Linked DNA regions of Homo sapiens: regions 1 and 2 are each linked to region 3. Evidence: promoter capture Hi-C in 16 types of primary human blood cells and fetal thymus (Javierre and others, 2016). All regions are on one chromosome and are shown on one strand. Each heading gives the region's core, a stretch centred on a gene start or on the middle of the fragment in contact. The rest is flanking DNA. Distances are from core to core; before and after follow the strand shown. Region 1 has its middle 30 kb from the start of TRI-TAT2-1. Region 2 holds the start of TRI-TAT2-1 (tRNA-Ile (anticodon TAT) 2-1). Region 3 holds the start of DYNC2LI1 (dynein cytoplasmic 2 light intermediate chain 1).

The links. Contacts are between HindIII fragments. The CHiCAGO score rates a contact against its expected background, and 5 or more counts as called.
Region 1: a fragment that was not itself captured here is called in contact with the fragment with the promoter of DYNC2LI1 in region 3 in 1 of 17 cell types (total CD8 T cells); the score reaches 5.1 in total CD8 T cells.
Region 2: a fragment that was not itself captured here is called in contact with the fragment with the promoter of DYNC2LI1 in region 3 in 4 of 17 cell types (total CD4 T cells, total CD8 T cells, naive CD8 T cells and 1 more); the score reaches 7.1 in total CD4 T cells.

Annotation. Positions count from the first base shown.
Region 1 is chr2:42,838,171-42,841,923 of GRCh38, reverse strand. No RefSeq gene overlaps it. Among named protein-coding and RNA genes, the nearest start is that of TRI-TAT2-1, 30 kb to the right of the region's middle. The HindIII fragment of the contact is 249 bases long and covers 2,288-2,536 here.
Region 2 is chr2:42,810,354-42,813,986 of GRCh38, reverse strand. It overlaps TRI-TAT2-1 (tRNA-Ile (anticodon TAT) 2-1), which reads right to left and starts at 3,451; the gene lies at 3,359-3,451. RefSeq lists enhancers at 2,508-2,587, 2,618-2,717 and silencers at 2,798-3,087, 3,378-3,633. The HindIII fragment of the contact is 2,540 bases long and covers 1-2,535 here.
Region 3 is chr2:43,772,733-43,776,481 of GRCh38, reverse strand. DYNC2LI1 (dynein cytoplasmic 2 light intermediate chain 1) reads right to left here and starts at 2,443. Exons shown (of 13, transcript NM_016008.4): 1 at 2,336-2,443. The coding sequence starts at 2,343. It overlaps LOC105374571 (a long non-coding RNA gene), which reads right to left and starts at 2,329. Exons shown (of 2, transcript XR_940033.2): 1 at 1,936-2,329; 2 at 1,490-1,609. RefSeq lists an enhancer at 2,508-2,557. The HindIII fragment of the contact is 6,929 bases long and covers 1-3,749 here.

The sequences.
Region 1 (3,753 bases), core at 1,163-3,662, 930 kb after region 3:
GAACATGATCAGACTTATGGTGTTCAGAGTCTGGTGTGTCAAGGTTTGTCTAACGGACCTCATTTAGGCTGGGGAGAAAGAGAGCACAGGAGGGAGAGAAGGGGAAAGACACATGGAGGGAAAGGGAGAGAGGGAGAGACAGAGGAGGTTGAGCCTCATAGGAAAGGCCCCAGCCCACCAGGTATATCATGGCCCCAGGTGTGACCCATACACATCTCTAGGCTCCAAGGACACTGGGTCAAGGCCAGCCTCATGCTGACAGACAGCAAGGCCTCCAGGACCTGCAGCCAGCAGCCTTCCCAGCCCCTCCTCTCTTTTCTCCCAGGGTTGGTTTCCAGCTGACTCTAAGAAGCCTTGGGAGGGTAGATTGGGAAACACGGGAGGACTCTGGGCTGCAAGGGGCAGCGGCCATCTTCAGCTAGGAGGGTCCGTGGAAAGTGAGTGGGGGGAGGGGAGCACCCAGGAGGGGACTCTGGGGGGCCTTGCGGAGGGTAATCTGTCCTGCATGCCCAGCTTCCAGGGATTCCACATGGAGGAGCTGCTGTGTGAAGTGAAATGTCTATGAGAGGCTGGACTCGGGGGTCTCCACCACTGTGAGCCTGGCAGCAGAGCTCCATGGGAGAAAGATGACACTCCCAGTTGCTTGGCAGAGATGGTTTCTTTGGTTTTTATTGTACAGGCATTTTTACTTTGCACTATTGCAGTGGTAATATTCCAGGGGAGCCATCCCTAGGGGGGTCCTTGAGGGTTTAAATAGACCCAAGGAAATGGTCTTCTATGCCCAGAAAGCCTTCTGTCCTCACCAGGCTTTACTGGTGAGATGTCACACTCAACGCTGGGGGCGCAGAGAGGGTTTGAGAGCTTTGAAACATGAGTGGGGGCCGGGGGGAATGGCTCCAGGCTGCAGATGCTTCAGGAAGATCGTGCCCAGCACCTGAGCTGCTTGAGAAATCTGGCACAGGCACCCGGCACAATAGACTCAAGAACTACATTTCAGAAAAGGTGATAACCAGGTCTGGAGGACACATTCTTGTCTGGCTGTCCCCGGTCCATGAGGGAACCACACACATCCCCACTGCCCCCCACTGCAGGAGTCCTGGTGGGGCCATCTGTTAATCCCAGGGCTCCCCAGCTCCCACCCCTGAAAACAAGTTTGAGCCCTGGATCTCCGCCCTAGGACTTCTCAGCAGTGGAAGCCAATATAGTCCTTTCTGCTCAAGCCTGTTTGATTTGGTCTTCTGTCACTTGCAACTGAAAATGTCCCATCTAACATACCAGACTAATAACTAACTATGAAATAGGCTCCAAACCAAAGAACAGAGTCAGAGTGAAAATGTGTTTTCCAAGGGTCAGAATCCCATAGTTCTCTGGAAGAGAAACATAAAAGACCTCTGCCAGATCTGGACAGGCCAGCTAGAAGCAGTACTGCCCTTAGACATAGGCAAGAGAGGCCCCTGCACACACACACACACACACACACACACACATTAAAGAATACATGGATATCTCTGCCCTTGTCCCTCGAGATCCAGCACTCAGCACTAGTACAGTGTGATCTCTAACCCCAAAACATCCACTCTCATGAGCAACACCATTCAGGCCCCAGGGAAACGCCTCACATCCTTTGTGTTATGTCCTTGAATCAAAAAAGACTGTGTCTACATACTGTGAAAATTTCTGGGCTATGCTGCTGTTCACACCAGAGACAGACACTGCCCTGGCTCTGGAGTGTAGCGAGGAGTGGATGGTGTGCACACTAAGGTAAGAGAAAAGGCATTGATCAAATCCTTCCTCTCACATAGCAAGAATGCAAGAGAAGTGGCAGATCCCAGCGGTGGCAAGATGCACTTTCTTGCTTTTCTTTGTGGTTGCAGAGGTACTCACACATTAGCACAATATTTGCTATAGTTGCACATGGCAGCTGAGGAGCATTTTCCAATATGAATAATTCATAATTTGCCTACATTTGCACACATGTAGGTCAAGATATAACATGCATGAAGCATGACACTGATGCTTTACATTGGCAACTAGACAGACATGGAACAATGCTACAATTGTAAATGAGTTTATTTTTGTAAAAATGTTTAGTAAGACTTCATTACATTTTCAAGACTTATATTTAAAATTTAGCTTCACTTAAACATCTTATTTAAATGTTGAATGTATTAGATAAAGTTGATCGGTTATACTATTAGTTATGTTTGCCTTTTAATTTTAATAGATAATTTTGAAGATTTTAAGAAAAAATAATTTTTAAAACTTACAAGAGAAGTAACTTTAAGCTTTGATCTTTTACAATTTACTTTAATTTACATTTTTATTAAAATAGGTGCAATTTTGTGCTGTTTTGGTTATCTCTGCTGCATAACAAACCCCAAAACTTAGTGCTTTAAAATCAATTGGCCAGGCATGGTGGCTCACTCCTATAATCCCAGCACTTTGGGAGGCCGAGGCAGGAGGATCACTTGAGGCCAAGAGTTCAAGACCAGCCTGGGCAACATAGAGAGACCCCCATCTCCACACAAAAGAAGCTTTTAATTAAAAACAATTATTTTTAATAAAAACAAAATATTTTTAGCTCTCAGGGTTACCTGGACTTAGTGGTCGCTTATGGGGACAGGTCTCTCATGTAGTCGCAGTCAAATGGCAGCAGGACCTAGAGCAAGCTTGTCCAACCTGCAGCCTATGGGCTGCATGAGACCCTGGATGGCTTTGAATGCAGGCCAACACAAATTCGTAAACTTTCTTTTTTTTTTTTTTTTTTTTTTTTTTGAGATGGAGCTTCGCTCTTGTTGCCCAGGCTGGAATGCAATGGCGTGATCTCGGCTTGCTGCAACCTCTGCCTCCCAGGTTCAAGTGATTCTCCTGTCTAAGCCTCCCAAGTAGCTGGGATTACAGGCACCCACCACCATGCCCAGCTAATTTTTGTATTTGTAGTAGAGACTGGGTTTCACCATGTTGGCCAGGTTGGTCTTGAACTCCTGACCTCAGGTGATCCACCCGCCTCAGCCTCCCACAGTGCTGGAGTTACAGGCATGAGCCACCATGCCCAGCCCATAAACTTTCTAAAAAATTATGAGTATTTTTTGTGTGCGTGATTTTTGTTTTTAGCTCATCAGCTATTGTTAGTGTATTTTATGTGTGGCCCAAGACAGTCCTTCTTCTTCCAATGTGGCCACAGAAGCCAAAAGATTGGACACCCTTGGTCTAGAGTCAAACGTTGGCTCAACTGGACTGCACATCCAAGATGGCAGCATCTTCTTTCACCTATCTTCTTTCATCCTCAGCTGGGATGGCTGGAACAAGTGGAATCTGGCTGAATCTATTGCTTTCTCCATGTGGCCTTTCCATGTGGCTATCTTGGCTTCCTTATAGTATGATGGCCTCAGAGGAATCAAATTTCTAAGATGATAGCTGACTTACCCCAGAGCAAGCTTTCTAACAGACCCAGCTGAAAGGCAAAAGGCTTCCCATGGCCTATCCTCAGAAGTCATGCAGCCTCACCATCACTGCTTTCTGTTGGTCAAAAGCGAGTCACGGAGACAACCCAGAGTTAAGAGAGGGGAATACACAAGGTTGGGCATACTAGGGGTGTGAACACGGGGGTGCTATCTTGGAAGACTAGCTGCCACAATGTCTGCCCTCTGCCTCCCATGAATCACATACCTCCCACGTGCAAAATACAGTCGCCTTCCAAGACCATTAAGGTATCAGCCATGAAGCCTTTAGGTTCAGGCTCCAAATCCAGGA
Region 2 (3,633 bases), core at 16-2,515, 960 kb after region 3:
CGCAGTTTGGTCACTTCATACTTACCCACTTCCTTCTTGAAGCCACTACACAGTATAGTCAGGCCTAAGCCAGTGGTCTGATGCTAATAAAAATGTCATAATACTTTGTGGTTTTTAAAGCATTTTCCCATATTCTGACTTGATTTTTTTTTTTTTAATTGAGACAGAGTCACTCAGGCTGGAGTGCAGTGGTGCAATCTCAGCTCACTGCTGCCTCGACCTCTTGGGCTCAGGTGAGCCTCCCACCTCAGCCTCCCAAGTAGCTGAGACTACAGGCGTGCCTCATCACACTGGGTTAATTTTTGTATTTTTTGTAGAGACAGGGTTTCACCATGTTGCCCAGGCTGGTCTGGAACTCCTGGGCTCAAACAATCCTTCTGCCTCAGCCTCCCAAAGTGTTGGAATTACGGTGTGAGCCACCATGCCCTGCCTCACTTGATTTTTATCACCCACCACAACCTTAAAAAATTCTATCAACATCACTTTAAGACACTGGGCCACAAATAGGCTCAGAGTATGTTTGTTGTTTATGGCCTAATCAATAATTTCGTAGCTGAAGATTTCTAAATTAAGGAAAGAAGAACTAGTTTAGCTTCCTTCCAACCCTACCATCTTATCAGGAAAACAGTTCCTAAAGCCACTGCCATTCCAGCAGTAACCAGTAGGGACAGAAACAATATTGAAGAATGTTCTAACCATAAGAGTTGTTGGAAAATGGAATAAGTTGCCTTGAGAGGAACTGAAATTCTGATGCTAGCAGTTTTCAAATAGGAGCTAGGGTTTTGTGGAAAGGATTTCTCTGTGGATAGGAGGTTGACAGAATGATCTCTCATTCATTTATTGTTGTCTGTTTGGGATCTTGCTTTGAGCTCAGCTCTCAGAAGTACCTAAGAGACTCCTGGTGGTCAGTGAGTTACCTGTGAAGATTAGAAACCTGCACTTTCTGAGTCTGATCACTTTTCTGTTTGTGCATTTTAAAATTAATCACCTCTTACAAAGCAGTTTTTGGCAAATTTCCTTTTGAAAATGCCAACCCTTTCTCCATTATTCAAAAATGGAAAGAATCCATACAATGGACTGTCATACAGTCATAAAAAGAAATGAAGCACTGATATATGGTACAATATGGATGAATATTGAAAACATTATAAAGTGAAAAAGCCAATTACAAAAGACCACATGCTGTATAATTCCATTCGTAGGAAAGTCCAGACTAGGGAAATCTACAGAGACAAAAAGTGGATTTGTGGTTGCTTAGGGCTGGTGGGGGAACAGGATGGGAAGATGAGAGGGTGAGAACTAGTCTTGAGGTGATGAAAATGTTTGAAAATTTACTGTGGTGATGATTGTACTTATCTGTGAATATACTAAAATCCATTGTACACTGTAAAATGGGCGAGTTGTATGGTATAGGAATTATATCCCATTAAAGCTGTTGGGTTTTTTGTTTTTTTTTTTATAGAAAGTAAGCATACTTTTTTTTTTTTTTTTTTTTTTTTTTTGAGACGGAGTCTCGCTGTGTCGCCCAGGCTGGAGTGCAGTGGCGCGATCTCGGCTCACTGCAATTTCCGCCTCCCAGGTTCAAGCAATTCTCCTGCCTCAGCCTCCCGAGTAGCTGGGATTACAGGCGCACGCCACCACAGCCGGCTAATTTTTTGTATTTTTAGTAGAGGCGGGGTTTCACAGTGCTAGCCAGGATGGTCTCCTGACCTCGTGATCCGCCCGCCTTGGCCTCCCAAAGTGCTGGGATTACAGGCGTGAGCCACCACGCTCAGCCGCAAGTTTTTTTTGTTTTGTTTTGTTTTGTTTTGTTTTTTTAGACAGGTCTGGCCCAGGCTGGAGCAGTGGTGCCATCTCAGCTCACTACAACCTCGGCCTCTCGAATCCAAGAGATCCTCTCACCTCAGCCTCCCGAGTAGCTGGGATTACAGGTATGCGCCACCACACCCGGCTAATTTTTGTATTTTTAGTAGATACGGGGTTTCGCCCTGATGGCCAGGCTGGTCTTAAACTCCTGGGTGATTAAAAAAAAAAAAAAATCCGCCGACCTTAGCCTCCCAAGCCGGGATTACAGGCGTGAGCCACCGCGCCTATTTTTTTATTATTATTATTATTCTTTTTTAATGGATAGAGATTTTATTTGTTTCTAAGCCTGGGCTGCATTTCTACAGGGGACCTATCCCATGCCTCTGAGGATGTCTGTGAGCCAGAGGCGACCTCCCCGGGGCTGGCGAGGAACCCGGCACCAGGACGAGGGGAAGTGGGCGGCCCTTCCCACATTCCAGTTGGCATAGGGTTCCTGTTCTGCATCGAGGGGCTGGATGGGTGAGAGCAACCGAAGCCTGGGCTAGCGCAGGAGATAGACAAGAGCTCCGCCCTCCATCCATTTCTCTGAACGTTCTAGGTCTTGATTTTCACCACTCGCGGGGTAATATTTCCACCCAAAATCTAGCAACGATCCCGTCCATGAAAACAGCTGAAAATCTCCCCTTTGAAAGAACACGTCCAGGAGGCTTTCCATCCCTTAACTAAGCTTGTGCCCGCTTTGCCTACCCCCCCTGGCGATGTGGGGCAGGGCGCATCCGCCGGCGACCACTTGGCCTGATTTCCCGGCCCCCGGGAGGACTTCTGAACCAGGATTTGTGACGTGCCGCTAGGAGAAGGGGCACATGATGGGGAGGGGAACTCTCCGAGCACATTCCCCAAACTGCAAATCTGCCCAGGGACGGCTGGGCGCCTGGGTTGAGGAGAAGGGCCCGCAGTCTTATTGGTCTCTGCAGACAGAAGCGAGGGGGAAGAACTCATCACGAGTTACAAGGGCGGAAAACAGCCGCCCCAGGTCTCCCCACAGCTCCCCGGACGCCCCGCGCTAGGCCTCGGGCCCCAACGCCTGGGAATGGTCGGCGGTGCTTGGGCCCCGCCCGGGGGCGAGGGGCAGCGGCCCGGCCCCAGGCCTCATCTCCGCACCGGGAGCTCGGGCTCACACTGTAGAATGAAGTGCCCTGTAGAATATTCGATCCCCACGGCCAGCTAGGGACCCCGCCACAGTGGAGCGCCTCGCCACCTCCATCCGCCCTCCTGTGGTCCGGGACTAGGTGCAGTTACAGGACCCGCCTAAGAAGAGCACTAGAAGGACGCAGTGGGTGGATGTCCGAGTTCGAGCGGCTGGATGTCGCGCGGTGGCAACAAGTAGCTCGGAAAAGGGGTATTGAGAGTCCACTGCGAGCTGCTTCCTGCTTGCGGCCAATGGGGACGTGCGGCAGAGCAGTTAGAAACAAGAAGGGAGAAGACTAAAGAGAGACTCCTTACTTCTGGCAACGAGATACACAAAAGGGGTTGCGAACATCCAAAAGGGTCTTGCTCCAGGTGAGGCTCGAACTCACAACCTCGGCATTGCTCTGCATGTACTGCTGTATAAGTACCGCGCGCTAACCGATTGCGCCACTGGAGCTCTGCTGAATGGGCCTCGTGATGGCTCTATCAGGGTGCGCTGGCGCCCGCGGCGGGCCTCGGCAGAGCATGCGCGTTCGCGGCGCGAGCCCAGGCCCGAGCCTTCTGCGACTTCGCGCCGAGCTCCCGGCTGTTCCGCAGCCGATCGAGCCGGGGAAGCCTGCGAGTGTCGCCCTCGGGGAT
Region 3 (3,749 bases), core at 1,194-3,693:
CTCAGACACATATGGAGGTACAATGACTTTGGGAATGTACAACTTGAAAACCACAAACATTTAAGTCACCTAGGAAGATGGGAAAAGTACAAAACCAGTGTATCAAATAATCTTTCCTCCCTGAAACATTTCTTTTTTGTGTTTTAGATTATGTTTTTAGGTAAAAAAAAATTTTGTTTAATATAAAAGTATATGGGAGGCTGAGGCAGGAGGATCACTTGAGATCAGCCTAGGCAATACAGGAAGATCCCATCTCTACTACTGCTACTACTACTACTACTACTAATAAATTAGCATGGGGGAGGGATAGCATTAGGAGAAATACCTAATGTAAATGATGAATTAATGGGTGCAGCAAACCAACATGGCACATGTATACATATGTAACAAACCTGCACGTTGTGCACATGTATCCTAGAACTTAAAGTATAAAAAAAGAAGAAGAAGAAAAGAAAACAAACAAAAAAAATTGGCTGAGGCTGGGAGTGGTGGTTCACACCTGTAATCCCAGCACTTTAGGAGGCCAAGGTGGGTGGATCACTTGAGGTCAGGAGTTCAAGACCAGCCTGGCCAACATGGTAAAACCCCATCTCTACTAAAAAAAAAAAAAAAAAAAAAAAAAAAAAATTGGCCAGGTGTGGTGGCGGGTGTCTGTAACTCCAGCTACTCAGGAGGCTGAGGCATGAGAATCACCTGAACTCAGGAGGTGGATGTTGTATTGAGCCAAGATCGTGCCACTGCACTCCAGCCTGGGCAACAGAGCGAGACTCTGTCTAAAAAAAAAAAAAAGAAAATAAAAAAAGAAAAAGAAAAGAAATTAGCTGGGTGTGGTGACATGCACTCGTGGTCCCAGCTACTAGGGAGGCTGAGGCAGGAGGATTGCCTGAGCCCTGGAGGTCGAGGCTGCAGTAAGCATGTTGACATCACTGCACTCCAGCCTGGGTGACACAGCAAGACCTTGTCTCCCCCCGCCAAAAAAAAACCATAAAGAAAGAAAGAAAAAAAAACCCTAAAACCACAAACATTTTGAAAACAATCCTTTCATTGATTTCTTTACACAGATATATAACTTTACACGATAAAATCATATATATATTAATTAAAGCCTAAGTGAAAATGGAATATTAAACTAAAAACTAACCATGGGCAAGACCTGATAGGTCCTAGCCTGATTCTGCTACTTCCTATGTATGTGAACTTGGGAAAACTACCTAACCTCTTTAAATCCTTCATTCCTTTATTAATTAAACAAATATTTATTGAGCACCTAATATATGCAATCCTCTGTGCTATTCCCCAGGCTCAATTGTTTCTCTATCTCTAAAAAGCCAATAAAAAAGAGTATCAGCTTTATAGGATTGTCATAATTGTTAAAATATATATGTAGTTTAGGGCATGGCCTATACAATTACAAAAATTATTGAGGGCTTGTAATTATACTATTCAAGAACCAGGAATAAGAAAAAGGGTCAAAACAGGAGTCCTTAAATGTTTGCACTAAAATTCATGCATTTATTTCACAGGTGAGCCTTCAGAACTCAGTTTCGGGCTGTTTGCTCTTCATTTACACAACATTCTTTCAAAATATGAGGATCTGCTTTCCAAATACCTAGCAGAGAGGAAAGACGGAGGTGCTGCAGTCAGCCACGACACCTGCGGAAATCGGGAAGTATAACCATAGCTTTATAACTAACCAATTATCCCTTGATGGAAAGCTGACAATTCTCCACACTATCCCAAGGAGAGAAAAAGATTTATCCTGCTCTGTGATGCACTCCCTGACCCCTCTCCCCGACGTGCTTAAGCATAAATTGTTGAGAAAAGGTTTAGGAATATCTTGTGAACAGGTAATTAAAATGAATATCATAGAATTGAACAGCTAGAATATAGTTTACAAACCCTCTCCCGTTTCCCCCCTTAAAAGTGATGTTATACTTTCCACAGTGCCTTCCAAGTTTCCCCTCGCTTATTACTGCGAACCCCCGCACCAGGAGGGGAGGCCCCTGGGGAGAGGAGGCTTTGTGGTCTAGCTCATCGCCGAATGTCCTGCTCCGGAAGTAGTCTCTGGCCTGCAAGAAACTTTTATTCAATCATTGAATGGGTGGAGTTGCTGATCTTTCCAAATCTCTCACTTTTCTACCTAGGGAACTTTCTTTTCTTTCCTGTTTGCGGCAGAATCTTTATGCTCAAGGCTGATTCCTAGGTCCCCGACCCTGCATATCCTGGTGGCAAGTAGCCACCCCCACAATCTTCCAACAGCTGGTCCCGCCTGGGCTTCCTCTCTCCAGGAATACTCTCAGTAGCCTTTCCCACGCAAGCCGGGTTCAGGGAATACCTGGGCATCGTCGACGGCCTGGCTGCCGCAAACGTCACAGGCTCGGAGTAGTGACCAGCCTAGAATCAGGCGGCGAGCTCCGCAAGGAGTCTGGGAGTGAGGCCTTCTGGGTTGCCATGGGAGCGACGTCGCGGCCGCGGTTGCGTGGGGAGACGGGCATCATGGGAAATGTAGTTTTCAGGAGTCCTTTTACATCTCATTCTCGGCCTCAAGCCTTAGGATTGCTTTTAGATCCCAAGTTAGTAACTCCTTGTTACCTCCTAGAACGAGATGATAAGGGGTTACAAACCTGGGATCTAAAAGCAATTTTCTTTTATTTTAAAATTTTTTTACTGGGTGTCAACTATATGCCAAGGGTCTCTGCTCTCTCTCTCTCTCATCTTTCACTTTTTTCTTCCCAATCGCCATGATTTAGGAATAGAGGGTGTAACAATCTCTTGAGCTGTTTTCTGCTAATTTACTAGAAGCAAGGAATATTCGGACTTTAAAATTTAAAATAAGGCACGTAATTTTAATATTTTCCAACTTTCTAGATGTTTAGTTGTTTCAAGTTTTATTCAATAGCACATTGTGTATTTATTAATAAATTAATGAAGCAAGTGCATCTCCTACATACTTCATTTACTTTGTGAATGTAGATTATTTTCTTTTGGAACTTTGTGGTCTCTTTATAGATCTGCAGGAGTGTCCAAATAAATAACGAGCATTGAAATAAATAACAATCATTGAATATGCAAGGCCCTATGCTACACAGAATAAGGAATAAAGAGATGAGTAAGAAAAGATCGCTGCCCTTAAGAAAGACACACACTCAGCTAATTATAAGCACCTAAGGAAGTGAGTGATCTAAACTATTGTATAGAGGTACAAAAATTGCATGAGGGCAAGTGACCAATTATGCCTGAAGGAGATGGTGAAACCATGGCACTGATAGTATTTGGTCTGTATTGAATGCTGAGTAGACTCAGGCTTTCTAGCCTAAGATGCCCTGAATATTTGAAGGAGATACCCTCCCTCCAGTCCTCTACTATTCGGCTTGATTTCTATGGTGCGATGTTCAAGTACATGGGCTTTGGCGTGAGATGGACCTAGGTTCAAGTTCTGACTTGGCCACGCTGGCTAAGTTGTCACATTGCCACATCGGGTAAATCACTGAATTTCTGATCCTGTAAAGCGGGAAAGATTGTGAATCTTAAATGAGATAAATGTAGGTAAAACATAACTTACGTGGGTGTCTGACACATTATAACTGCTTAATGCTTGTTATTATTGTGTGATAAGCTGCTGGTCAGCAACTTCGAACAAAGAAACACAAGGAACACATTCCTGGAAACAAGGCTGATGGTTGATAAAAGGGTGTTTATTTCAAATAAAGTCATTGGGAACAAAATCCTCCCAACACCTAGGTATATTT